Regions from separate parts of the Homo sapiens genome. Here all the other regions are linked to region 2. Evidence: promoter capture Hi-C in human tissues and cell types (Jung and others, 2019). All regions are on one chromosome and are shown on one strand. The core of a region is centred on a gene start or on the middle of the fragment in contact, and the rest is flanking DNA. Distances in the headings are between cores, read along the strand shown. Region 1 overlaps FOXN1 (forkhead box N1). Region 2 holds the start of SLC46A1 (solute carrier family 46 member 1). Region 3 overlaps SLC13A2 (solute carrier family 13 member 2).

What was found. The method cuts DNA at HindIII sites, captures the fragments that hold promoters and counts their contacts. A contact is called where the count stands out against the background at its distance.
Region 1: a contact is called between a fragment that was not itself captured here and the fragment with the promoter of SLC46A1 in region 2, in 2 of the 25 tissues and cell types used here (mesenchymal stem cells and small bowel).
Region 3: a fragment that was not itself captured here is called in contact with the fragment with the promoter of SLC46A1 in region 2 in 2 of the 25 tissues and cell types used here (lymphoblastoid cells and pancreas).

Annotation. Positions count from the first base shown.
Region 1 is chr17:28,513,189-28,517,237 of GRCh38, reverse strand. The region is part of intron 1 of FOXN1 (forkhead box N1); the gene reads right to left. Among named protein-coding and RNA genes, the nearest start is that of FOXN1, 8.9 kb to the right of the region's middle. The HindIII fragment of the contact is 8,963 bases long and covers 1-4,049 here.
Region 2 is chr17:28,404,904-28,409,008 of GRCh38, reverse strand. SLC46A1 (solute carrier family 46 member 1) reads left to right here and starts at 2,797. Exons shown (of 5, transcript NM_080669.6): 1 at 2,797-3,122; 2 at 3,541-4,105. The coding sequence starts at 2,895. RefSeq lists enhancers at 1-642, 3,783-4,105 and silencers at 2,616-2,955, 3,156-3,315. The HindIII fragment of the contact is 14,811 bases long and covers 1-4,105 here.
Region 3 is chr17:28,490,838-28,494,867 of GRCh38, reverse strand. SLC13A2 (solute carrier family 13 member 2) reads right to left here. Exons shown (of 12, transcript NM_003984.4): 4 at 3,962-4,030; 5 at 3,251-3,431; 6 at 3,016-3,138; 7 at 1,079-1,297; 8 at 763-851; 9 at 356-477. Among named protein-coding and RNA genes, the nearest start is that of FOXN1, 13 kb to the left of the region's middle. RefSeq lists an enhancer at 1,650-1,719. The HindIII fragment of the contact is 5,155 bases long and covers 158-4,030 here.

The DNA of each region.
Region 1 (4,049 bases), core at 400-2,899, 110 kb before region 2:
GGTGTGTACCCAGTGGAGGTGTGTACCCTGTGGAGGTGTGTATCCTGTGGAGGTGTGTACCCTGTGGAGGTGTGGATCCTGTGGAGGTGTGTACCCTGTGGAGATGTGTACCCTTTTGAGGTATGGATCCTGTGGAGGTGTGTACCCTGTGGAAGTGTGTACCCTGTGGAGGTGTGGATCCTGTGGAGGTATGTACTCTGTGGAGGCGTGTACCCTGTGATGGTATGGATCCTGTGGAGGTGTGTACCCTGTGGAGGTATGGATCCTGCGGAGGTGTGTACCCTATGGAGGTATGGATCCTGTGGAGGTGTGTACCCTGTGGAGGTGTGTCCTTGTGGAGGTATGGATCCTGTGGAGGTGTGTACCCAGTGGAGTTGTGTACCCTGTGGAGGTGTGTACCCTGTGGAGGTGTGTATCCTGTGGAGGTGTGTACCCTGTGGAGATGTGTACCCTTTTGAGGTATGGATCCTGTGGAGGTGTGTACCCTGTGGAAGTGTGTACCCTGTGGAGGTGTGGATCCTGTGGAGGTATGTATTCTGTGGAGGCGTGTACCCCGTGATGGTATGGATCCTGTGGAGGTGTGTACCCAGTGGAGGTGTGTACCCTGTGGAGGTATGGATCCTGCGGAGGTGTGTACCCTATGGAGGTATGGATCCTGTGGAGGTGTGTACCCTGTGGAGGTGTGTATCCTGCGGAGGTGTGTACCCTGTGGAGGTGTGTACTCTGTGGCGGTATGGATCCTGTGGAGGTGTGTACTCTGTGGAAGTGTGTACCCTGTGGAGGTGTGGATCCTGTGGAGGTATGTACTCTGTGGAGGCATGTACCCCGTGATGGTATGGATCCTGTGGAGGTGTGTACCCTATGGAGGTATGGATCCTGTGGAGGTGTGTAACCTGTGGAGGTGTGTACCTTGTGGAGGTGTGGATCCTGTGGCAGTGTGTACCCTGTAGAGGTGTGTACCCTGTGGAGGTATGGATTCTGTGGAGATGTGTATCCTCTGGAGATGTGTACCCTTTGGAGCTATGGATCCTGTGGAGGTGTGTACCCTGTGGAGGTGTGTACCCTGTGGAGGTATGGATCCTGTGGAGATGTGTACCCTGTGGATGTAAGGATCCTGTGGAGGTGTGTACCCTGTGGAGATGTGTACCCTGTGGAGGTATGGATCCTGTGGAGGTGTGTATCCTGTGGAGTTATGGATCCTGTGGAGTTGTATACCCTGTGGAAGTATGGATCCTCTGGAGGTGTGTACCCCTGTGGAAATGTGTATACTTGTGGAGGGGTGTACACCTGTTGAGGAGGGTATACCTGTGGAAATGTGTACCCTGTGAAGGTATGGACACTGTAGAGATATGTTCACCTGTGGAAGTGTGTACCCTGTGGAGGTGTGTACGCCTGTGAAGGTATGTATATCTGTGGAGGTGTATACACCTGGGGAATGGTGTTCACCTTTGGAGGTATGTACACTGTGGAGGGGTGTACTCCTGTGAAAGTGTGTATACTTGTGGAGGGGTGTATACCTGTTGAGGAGTGTACACCTGTGGAGGTATATTCACCAATGGAACTGTATACCCTGTGGAGGTGTGTACACCTGTGGAAGTCTATACTTTTGGAGGGGTGTACACCTGTGGAGATGTGTAGCCTGTGGAGGTATGTTCATCTGTGGAAGTGTGTACCCTGTAGAAGCATGTACCACATGGAGGGGTGTACCTCTGTGAAGGGGTGTACACTTGTGGAAGTATGTTCACCTATGGAAGTATGTACCCTGTGGAAGTGTGTTCACCTGTGGAGGTATGTTCACCTGTGGAAGTGTATACACCTTTGGAAATGTGCACACCTGTGGAGGGTGTACCCTGTGGAGATGTGTACACCTATGAAGGGGTGTACTCTGTGGAGGTGTGTACCCTGTGGAGGTATGTACTCTGTACTCTTTGGAGGTATGTACCCTGTGGAAGTGTGTACCCTGTGGAGGTGTGTACCTCATAGAGGTGTGTACCCTGTGGAGATATGTACCCTGTAAAGGTGTATCTGGCCCACAGAGCTGTCAGCAGGGACCTCACCCCTCCTCTGCCTTTATGTGGGGCGCCCCTGAGGACATCCTCAAGGAGATCAGGAAGACTTGGCTGAGTTTTTACACCCCAGGAAGGAGGAGCTGTATTATCATCCCATTTTATAGATGAGGAAACTGAGACTCAGAGAAGTTAACCTGACTTGCCCAAGTTCACTCAGCTAGTATATTATGCTCCCCAGGATTCCAACCCGGGCTTCAAAGCCAGCATGCTGAACCATTACGCTACACGGCCCCACCTTGGTAACGCCTCAGCCTCCCTGCTCAAGCCTGAAAGGTGGGTGGGGGCGACGTTGGAGGTTTCCTTGGGAGGGTCTGTCCCTGCCTCCCCTGTGGGCAACTGAATCACAGGGACAGACAGGCCTGGGGCACCAAGGGTCCTCCCCAGGCTCTCTTCACGCTCCCTGCTGCCTCCCACCTGGCGGCCTCCTACCCACTCTTTATGAGTGAGGTGGGGACGGCTCAGTTCCACCTTAATGGTTTCTGTTGCTGGCTGCGGCAGCATGTTTTACGAGGGGTGGGGCTCGGCCGGCCGGGTGCTGGCCTGTAGCCCCACCCAGGGCTCCACCCGACAGGCTGCTGGGAGGGGTCCCCTGGAGCAGCTCGGCAATTATGGGGGTGGCAGGGAAGGACCTGGGGGCTCTGCCTGAGGCTTGGGCACCCAAGGAAACTCGGGGTCTGGGAATGCCAAGAAAGAGGGGGTTTCTAGCTCCTTTCTCCCCATCAATGTTGGAAGTTCTGAGGGCAAAATTCTGGCCTCCCTGGCTCTTAACCCAGCATCAGTTTCGGAAAATGGGTTGCGTGCCCCTGCCTTGAGATCTGACTCAAGTACAGAGCAGGTAGGGACAGAATGGGCAGGGAGGGGAGTGGGGAGAACAAAGGATGAAAAGCCACCATGTCCCCCAGGTGACGCTTTCCTCCATGTGAGCCACCGACACCTGCAGCTGAGTCATTCCAGTCCCCAAATCAGGCTTCTCCTAAAGACTCTTCAGCATTCCCATGTGCCTCTGGAAGCAGGCTGGTCCCAGAGCATTGCCTAGTACGCCCATCCTGGAAAAGCACTTGAGCCTTGGGCCGACCTGGAGGTTCTTCCAGATCTCTAATCCCTATTTATTGTAATCTTAGTCCTCTTGTCCTGTCCTTCCTGCCATTCACCAAGCCACCCACCAGAGCCTCTTTAAGGGCAATAGACTCATCCCTTCTGCAGGGAGGGTCCCAGCTTTGCTTCAGATGCCTGACTCCAACAGCAACCAGTCTCCCACTCTCCTTTGCCCAGCACCCCTTCCTTTTCGCCATCCCTGGCTGCCTCTGGGCACCTTCCCGTCTCTCCAGCCCCTCTCTAACCTCTGCCACCCAGCCATGGCCCCAAAGGAGCCAAATCCAAGCACTCACAGTGGGCTCTGGGTCATGGCCACCATCACCGCTTCGGGGAGTCATTCAGCCTGCAGCTCCCCAGGAGCCTCCATCGAGGTATAAATACTCCCACATGCCTGGACCGGCCCCCTGCCCGAGGGCTGAGGCGGGGCTGTCTCCCCAGGCCAGGCAGGCAGGTCACATGCCCCATAAATGCCACAGGACCACAGGCCCTTCCTAGCAGCCCTGGGGAGGCCAACTAGAGCCTGACCTCTCTGGATGGATGGGTGGATAGATAGATGTATTTATGTATGTAAAGATGAACAGTTGGATGAATGGACAGATCATCGGATGGAGAGATTGATGGATGGAAAGCTGGACAGATGGACAAATCAACAGACAGATAGATGAATGTTTTATTTTTTTATTTTAAGTATTTTTATTTCTGTGAGTATCTGTAGTGTAAAGGATGAATATTTAGTGGGATAGATGGATGGATGTCCTTGACCTACCCGTGAATGTTTATTCTGGTTTTTTTTGTTTGTTTGTTTGAGACAAAGTCTCACTCTGTCACCCAGGGTGGAGTGCAGTGGTGCAATCTTGGCTCACTGCAACCTCCACCTCCTGGGTT
Region 2 (4,105 bases), core at 1,548-4,047:
ATCTTTTCCTTTGCAATAGCTTCTCCTTTCCTGTAGAAATTTGACAGGCAGGACTTTTTAGCTCTCTCTGGGTAAGTCACCTTTCCCTCTGGACCTCAGTTTCCCTGTCTTTTAAATGGTTGGATGGGTGGAGATGTGATTTCTCAGCTTCCTTCTAGGTGGAGATTCTTGGGCTCTGGACTCCACAGTGCAGCTCAACATTGGCAACCCTCTCCACATGCTCTGGGACTCCAGCTGCGGAATCTCCTCTCCTTGAGACTGAGAGTTCATTCAGCGATCGTCTTTTGAGCATCTACCACACGCCAGGCACTATTCTAGATGCTGGGGATATGGTAGTGATGAAAAAACAAAGTCCCTGCCATCATGACCTCTAGTAAAGGGAGATGGACAACAAAGAAACCAGAAAGTTATAATTCAGATGGTGATAAACACTATGGAAAAAAATGAAACAGGGTAAAGGATTAGGGAGTGCCAGGAAGCAAGGAAGGAGGGAAGTTGCTTATATAGGAGGGTCAGGTGACATTTTAGTGGAGACTTGAAGGAAGTGAGGGAGCCGGCCAGGCAGATATCCAGAAGAGCATTCTAGGTAGTAGTTACCGCAAGTGTAAAGGCCCTAAAGCAGGAGGCCAGCATGGCTTGAGCACAAGGATTGAGGGGGACAAAGCAGGGGAGAGGGACAGAGAAGAGGTAGGTGGCCTTAGGGCTCTCATAAGGACTTGGCTCTCACTGAGCGAAATGGAAAGCCCAGGATGGTTTTGAGCAGGCCAGTGACCTGATTGCAGCTGTTTTCAAGGAGTTAGAAAAGACCTCTACCCTAGTGGGTACTGCAGGCTCTGGCTCTGGGATGAGCCACACCCTGTCCCATTCCTGATGAGGGACCTTGGCCTCTCCTAGCCTTAGTTCTTTATCTAAGAAATAATTCCAAGGATTTAGCCAAGTACCCCTCCCTCACTGCAGCTGACCTAACTGGGCCAAGCTTTTGTGTAAGTGGTAGGGAGGAGTTGGAAGGGGAGGGAGGAGAGTGGAGCCAATCCAGAGGCTTGAATGTTTAATGTGGAATTTCCTCTCTCTAGGGGACCACAGGTGGGGGCAGCTTGCAGGGGGAGGTTATTCAGTTCACTAGTATCTAGCCAGCACCTACCCATCCTGAGTCTCGGACTCCTGGCTCAGGGGAGGTGGGGTAGCTAACAAGCTCCAACAGGCCCAGGCACAGTCACAGTGGCCAGAATTGGAGCCATCCATCCTCCCAAGAATCAGGCCTGTCAGGACCTGCCTCCAGAAACCCACTCAGCTGCTCTGTTCTCAGGGAAGGTGGCCTTTCCTGATTCTGCTCCCCCTACCTCCAGCCCCTGAATTAGCACCCTTGGAGTTCAAAACTATTTTCCACGGTTGGAATTTTGTATCAATTAGTAGGATTCTTTGACTATTTTTCCTCTCCCACCATTCTAGAAACTAACGGGCCTGGTGAGGGCTTTGTCTATTTCCTTTCCTGTTGTGGTCCCGGAGTCCCCCAGCACAGTGCCTGGCACGTAAGGGGCACTCAGTAAATGAGCTGAATGAATGAAAGATAGGGGAGTAAGGAAGGTAATGCTGTTCCTTTTTACAGGCAATAAAACAGAGGCCCAGACAGGGTCTGACCTCCTCAGCAGCAGAGCAGGTGACTGCCTTCTGGCCTAATTCCTATAATGGGAGCCACCCAGGAGCATAGGTTCACACCCAAGGACCTCCCAGGCCCTCCCCCATCTTCTCTAAGGGAACTGCAGAGCCAGGCCCTGCCTGACCCCAGAAACAAGACTAGTTTCCCAGGAAAAGATCCTAGGGCAGGAGTGGAGCAAGTGACAGCTTGTTTTTTATTTTATTTTTATTTTATATTTTTTGAGACAGGGTCTTGCTCTGTCACCCAGGCTGGAGTGCAGTGGTGCGATCTCAGCCCACTGCAACCTCTGCCTCCTGGGCTCAATTGATCCTCCCACCTCAGCCACCCGAGTACCTGGGACTACAGGTATCTGCTACTACGCCTGGCTAATTTTTGTGTATTTTTTGTAGAGACAGGGTTTTACCATGTTGCCCAGATTGGTCTCGAACTCCTGGGTTCAAGCGATCCATGCGCCTCAGCCTCCAAAAGTGCTGGGATTACAGGTGTGAGCCACCACTCCCAGACGTGACAGCCTGTTAATAGCAATAATAGCACTTTGAATATACCAGACACTGCTTTTCCACAACTTTTTGAGACATGTTTTGTTAGCAACTCCATTTTACAGATGAAAAAACAGAGGCTCAGGGTGGTAAGTGGCATGCCGAAGGTAGTGGCAGAGCCTAGGTGCTCCAACCCAGGCAGCTGGGCTCAGCCCACTCCGATCCTCTCCAGCTGCCTCTCTGTTACAGCGCAGAACATCAGCAGCATCAGGAGTCATGTGCTCTTCCAGCTCTGCCTTGAGTACCCGATGACCTCGTTTCCTCAGCGGTAGATAGCGATGGTTAATATTGGCTAGCCTGTAGAGTTATCGGGAGACCAACGCACAAAAAGGGTTTAATACCGTGCCCAGCACATAGTAAGTGGTCAATACATGTTAATTGTTGATATTCTTGTTATCTGTGGTGTGTCTGGGCCGGGAGGGAGGGCTGCAGGGCGGTGTCTACGCACACTTTACAGGTGAGGTCATCCCGCGGGCTGGGGGTGCCGGGCCCCTCGCTGGCCCACGCCCAGCCAGGTGCACCCGCGGCGAGAGTCCGGTGGCCTCAGGTCACAGGCCCCTCCCCGCCGGACATTTAAGGAGGGACGCCGGGCGCAGGCGCAGACAGCGCAAGCCCCACGCCACGCGTCGCTGGTCCCAGGCAGCGAGTCGCTCGCGCGCCCCGCCGCCCGCCTGGCGACAGCTCCGCCGCGCACGCACATGGAGGGGAGCGCGAGCCCCCCGGAAAAGCCCCGCGCCCGCCCTGCGGCTGCCGTGCTGTGCCGGGGCCCGGTAGAGCCGCTGGTCTTCCTGGCCAACTTTGCCTTGGTCCTGCAGGGCCCGCTCACCACGCAGTATCTGTGGCACCGCTTCAGCGCCGACCTCGGCTACAATGGCACCCGCCAAAGGGGGGGCTGCAGCAACCGCAGCGCGGACCCCACCATGCAGGTAGCGGGGCGGCGAGGAGCCTGGCAGGTGGAGGGCCCTGGTCTGGAGCGTGGGGGCAGCGGAGGGGCGGGGCCTGCGTAATGGTAGTGGCGGGTAACTGGAGGGAGGGTGCATTTTGGATGGTGGGCGGGACCAGAGCAAAGGGGCCTGACCGAGAACCTCAGCGGGTGGGATGCGAAAAGCTGAGCTAAAGTCTGGCCTTGCAGGTTAACAAAAGGGGGGGGAAAGGAAAGGGAATGGGGCCTTGGTCCATGTCCTTCCCCCTCTCCACTGGCAGATTTTGAAAGCTGTGCTAAGATTCTCTGAGGTTTAGGGCTCCAAAGGAAGTCCTCATCCCTGTAGCTCCCGGGATGGCGAGGATTTGGGGATTGTGGAACCCAGAGTGAGGAACCGCACCCTGGTCATTGTGCCCCTACAGGAAGTGGAGACCCTTACCTCCCACTGGACCCTCTACATGAACGTGGGCGGCTTCCTGGTGGGGCTCTTCTCGTCCACCCTGCTGGGAGCTTGGAGCGACAGTGTGGGCCGCCGCCCGCTGCTAGTGCTGGCCTCGCTGGGCCTGCTGCTCCAGGCCCTAGTGTCCGTTTTTGTGGTGCAGCTGCAGCTCCACGTCGGCTACTTCGTGCTGGGTCGCATCCTTTGTGCCCTCCTCGGCGACTTCGGTGGCCTTCTGGCTGCTAGCTTTGCGTCCGTGGCAGATGTCAGCTCCAGTCGCAGCCGCACCTTCCGGATGGCCCTGCTGGAAGCCAGCATCGGGGTGGCTGGGATGCTGGCAAGCCTCCTCGGGGGCCACTGGCTCCGGGCCCAGGGTTATGCCAACCCCTTCTGGCTGGCCTTGGCCTTGCTGATAGCCATGACTCTCTATGCAGCTTTCTGCTTTGGTGAGACCTTAAAGGAGCCAAAGTCCACCCGGCTCTTCACGTTCCGTCACCACCGATCCATTGTCCAGCTCTATGTGGCTCCCGCCCCAGAGAAGTCCAGGA
Region 3 (4,030 bases), core at 1,486-3,985, 86 kb before region 2:
CGCGTCAACACAACCCCCAATTACTTTGGTGCTGATGCTACTGTGTGCTCTGGCAGCGGGCAAAGGGCTGGGGTGGGATGGCATTTGTCTCTGAGAACAGGCTCTGCCCACCAGAGAATCCTGCCTTCCCTTGGACTTTGAGAACTGAACAAAGAGGTCCCTAGGGCTTGTGTTTCTTCCTCCCACATGAGGGCTCTAACCTAAGTCTTCCCAGCTGCTGCAAAGGCTCTGCCTACCCGAGAGGCTCCTACGTGGGGACCAGGTCTCCCCTCTGTGGGACAGAAGCAGGGCCCCCTCTCTCCCTGCCACAGAGACACCCTCACACAGGCTGAGGAGGGGGCTGGGGGCCTCTCACCTCACTGCCCTTGGCCAGGGCATAGCCACCACCCAGCAATAACACGATATTCCACGGCATCTTCTGGTTCACCGTCTTCCAGTCGAGGAGGCCAAGAGGGGCCTTCAGCTTCCCTGGGTTTTCTACTTCCCAAGCAGAGAAGGATGGGTCACCAAAGAACAAACAGGCCTTTCCCCTCTCCATTTGCGGGCTCCCTGTGTGGGTCCCTTTTGGAGCTTAACGCGTGCAGGAGGGGACCCTCAGTTCTGCAACATCTCAACTTTGTCTCCGAGTCCCTGTGCCCTTGGCAAGTCGCTCCAGCCTTTCTGGGCTTTGCCTACTCCTGCCAAGTGTGGTGGAAGGTACATTACATACTTGAAGGCAGGGGCTGCCCGGAGACCCTTCCCTGCCCCAGTCCAGGTGCTTACCTGGGTCCTGGGTCAGCCCTGGGAACTTGGAGGGTATGATGAACATAATTATGCCGATGAAGATGGCCACTGTCCCATCGGACACCATGCTGTTGGTGGAGGGGGCGCGGGGAGGGCTGGGTTAGCCGCTTGGGGTTGCTCAGGGCCACAGGGTGGAGGGTGGTGGAGATGAGCCTCTCCCATAGACAAGCCTGGGGAACCTTCATCCCCCACCAAGTGTTACCTCCTGTTCTGCAATGGGGGCCCTATACCCTTCCCTCCTTCCCGAGCATGTGAGCCCCAGATGTGTCCTCCTCCCAACCCCTGCAACTCTCACCTCTCCCCCTTGGCATTGGGAAAAGCCAAATTGCCCCAGCCAAGAAAAAAGCCCGGCTCCCGGGTGAACCAGAGCAGCACCAGGATGACGAATAGGATGCTGATGGCCTTTTCTGCAAAGGTCATGGGGCCCAGCAGCCTGTGCTCGGTCTGGATGACGCAGTAGGCTGCCTGCTGTTGCTCCTGCATCTTTTCCCCAATGCCAAAGTTCTTCCGGAAGCTGCAGGCAGAGGGACGGGGCAGCTCGTGGGGGGCCTGCTCCAGCAGGGAGCAAGGGGCTCTGAGTGCCTACCATCTAAAGGCTGAGGCCCACAGAGGGCATCTCAGGGTCACTACACTCAGGCCCCAGCTCCGCCTGAGGTTCTGGAGGAGGAGCAGAAGACTTTTAGAGGCCATAGTTCTTGCTTATTCTCCATGCTTGGCCCTGCCCCATTGAGCCCCTTTTCCTCCAGGGGTTCTATGGTGCTGAACCCTCCCTTGCCCAGGGTGAGGAGGACCTAGCAGCTCAGACCCTGGGACTTCTTCCTGCCCTGGCTCACAGCTCTTCTCCTCCAACAGCCTTCGGGAAGTCCTCCCTTCCCTCCTCTGCCTTCTCTGCTTATCCCCTGCCAGCCTGAGCCCCACCTGCATTGTCCTCAGAGGCACAGTAGGCTGCAGCCCACTTCCTTCTGCTGCTGACTTAACTTGTGTTGACATTTAACTTTCCACTTGGGTAAATCTCAACCTCCCTGCTGGACTGTGAGTTCCTCAAGGGCAAAGACCACACTTCACACATCTTTGACTCCCCTGTGGTGCCTGGCACTGTGCTGACCTCTTCTACTACCACCTTGCCTTGTACCAGCTCCCAACCTTAATCCAGCTTCCTTACATTTGCCCAAGTGATTTTTCCAAAGTGCAGCAGCAATGCTTAAAAACTTTCAAGGGCTCTCCACTGCCTGGGCAGGAAGGGCAAATTATAATTAATACCACAGTAACACTCATACCACCACTCTTATCCCGTATTCATGGCAGACATCACTAATCAATCACAGACTTGATACTAACTGAGCCTTAGCAGGGTCTCCTATGATTTTCCAACTCAGAGCTCCAAACAGTGACTACCAGGAACCTGGTGGAAGTAGGAATGAAATCTATTTATTACTCTTGGCTTCATTAGGTGGCACACAAGAGCTTCCAGAACCTTCCCCTGCCTACTTCTCCAGCTTCATGACCTGATGCTCCTTTTTGCTGTTTGTGTTTTAGTCCTGCAGAACTAGAGTTCCCTCGAACACGTCTTGTCTTGCCTCTGTGCTTTGTGCAATCTGCTCCTGCTGCCTGGAATTTCTTCACCCATTCTCTACCTGGCTGACTTCTAGTCCTGCAAGATTCAGCCCAGGCATGATCTCCTCCATGGTGTTCTGGAATCTTCACTCACCTGGGCTGAACTAGACACTGTGTTCTCTGTGCTCTTGCAGCATCTGGGCTTCCCTCTGTCGTGACCCCACCATATCATCATCCACCTGATGGGCTACAAGGACAGGGACTGTGCCCAGTGCCTTCTAGTATTCTCAGTGCCTTACACACAACCCAGTATACAGTAGGAACACAGCAGGTGCTTCTGTAACTAACCATGCTCAGTGTGTGCCCCTTAAGCACCTATCAAAGGACGGTGGACCATTATGGGAAGGGGCATCAAGTGACCTGGTTTGCAGCCCCAGCACTGACAAATCTAGTTGCGAACCACTCCTGAAGCCTCAATTTGCGCATCTGTGAAATGGGATAATACTCTCTACCCAGTAATTTCCTCAAATGGGGGTCCAAGTGCACAGAGGGGCTTTGGGAGGGAGAAGCCTTCTCATTGGGATGGTGATAATATCATTTTCCACATCTGCACCCAACTGGAAGCTCCCAGGGCTAAGGGCAGGGACCTGGGCTTCTCTCACCAACTTTGCCACTTACTTGAAGCCCAGGAAGAGGATCTGCAGCCACAACCAGGCCAGCAGCAGCAAGATGACCATGGTGGGGAAGGCGAAGCTGAACCAGGAGGCGAAGTTCACCACGTTGCCGTTTTGGGGGAAGAGCCTGAAGGAGGAACATGGGCTGCCGTGTGACATTGCCCCGAGAACTGCCCAGCCCCATTCACCTCCCAGTGAATGTGCAGATCCCCCAAGGTGGCCCACCCCTTGTCACTCACGAGTTGATCTGGCCTTGCAGCACCAGGTTGGGTGCGGTGCCAGTCAGCGTGGCGATGCCCCCGATGCTGGCGGAGTAGCACACGCACAGGCTCATGCACTGGGTGAGGTGGAGATGCTTCTGGCTGAGATGTGCCCTCCCCTCCGAAGAGGCAGACGTGACAGGGAGGGCCTGCCCATTATCTGGGAACAAGGGAGAGCCCAGGTGGGGGCAGGTACAGGGCCAGCTCTGGGGAACGGGGCCAGGGCTGCAAGGCCCTCCAGGGTACCTTGTCTGTGAACAGCCCAGACCGGGGCTGGAAGGAGGACAGAGGATGTCTCCAGGCCTGAGGGGCCCAGCATTCCCCAGAGTCTCAGGCTGGGAGCACCCTTGGACACTCTATGATCTGACCTCTCTCTTGAGAGAGGGAAACGAGGATTACCCAAACCACTCAGGAAGAATGGAGCCTAGACCTTGGACTGTTCACCTAGACTCCAGCTCTCTTCTTGCTATGGTGACCAAGCATCTTGGTTTGCCCAGGGATGAGGGGATTCCCAAAACAGGGTACTTGACATTTTTTAAAAAAGGAAAAACAAATTGGTCACTGTCCTTCTTGCATCTCTTTCTTCTCTCCCCAAAGGCTCCAAGATGACCAGCCCTCGAAACGGACAGACCCTCAGACTCTCTCCAAGAACCAAGGGGTTGGGGCAGAGTCTAGCCTCATTTTTCTCACCAAGCTTGGTCACCTCCTTCTGGGGACTTGGTTCCTGGAGCTCGAAGGTGGGGTTGTTGCTGCCCTCCT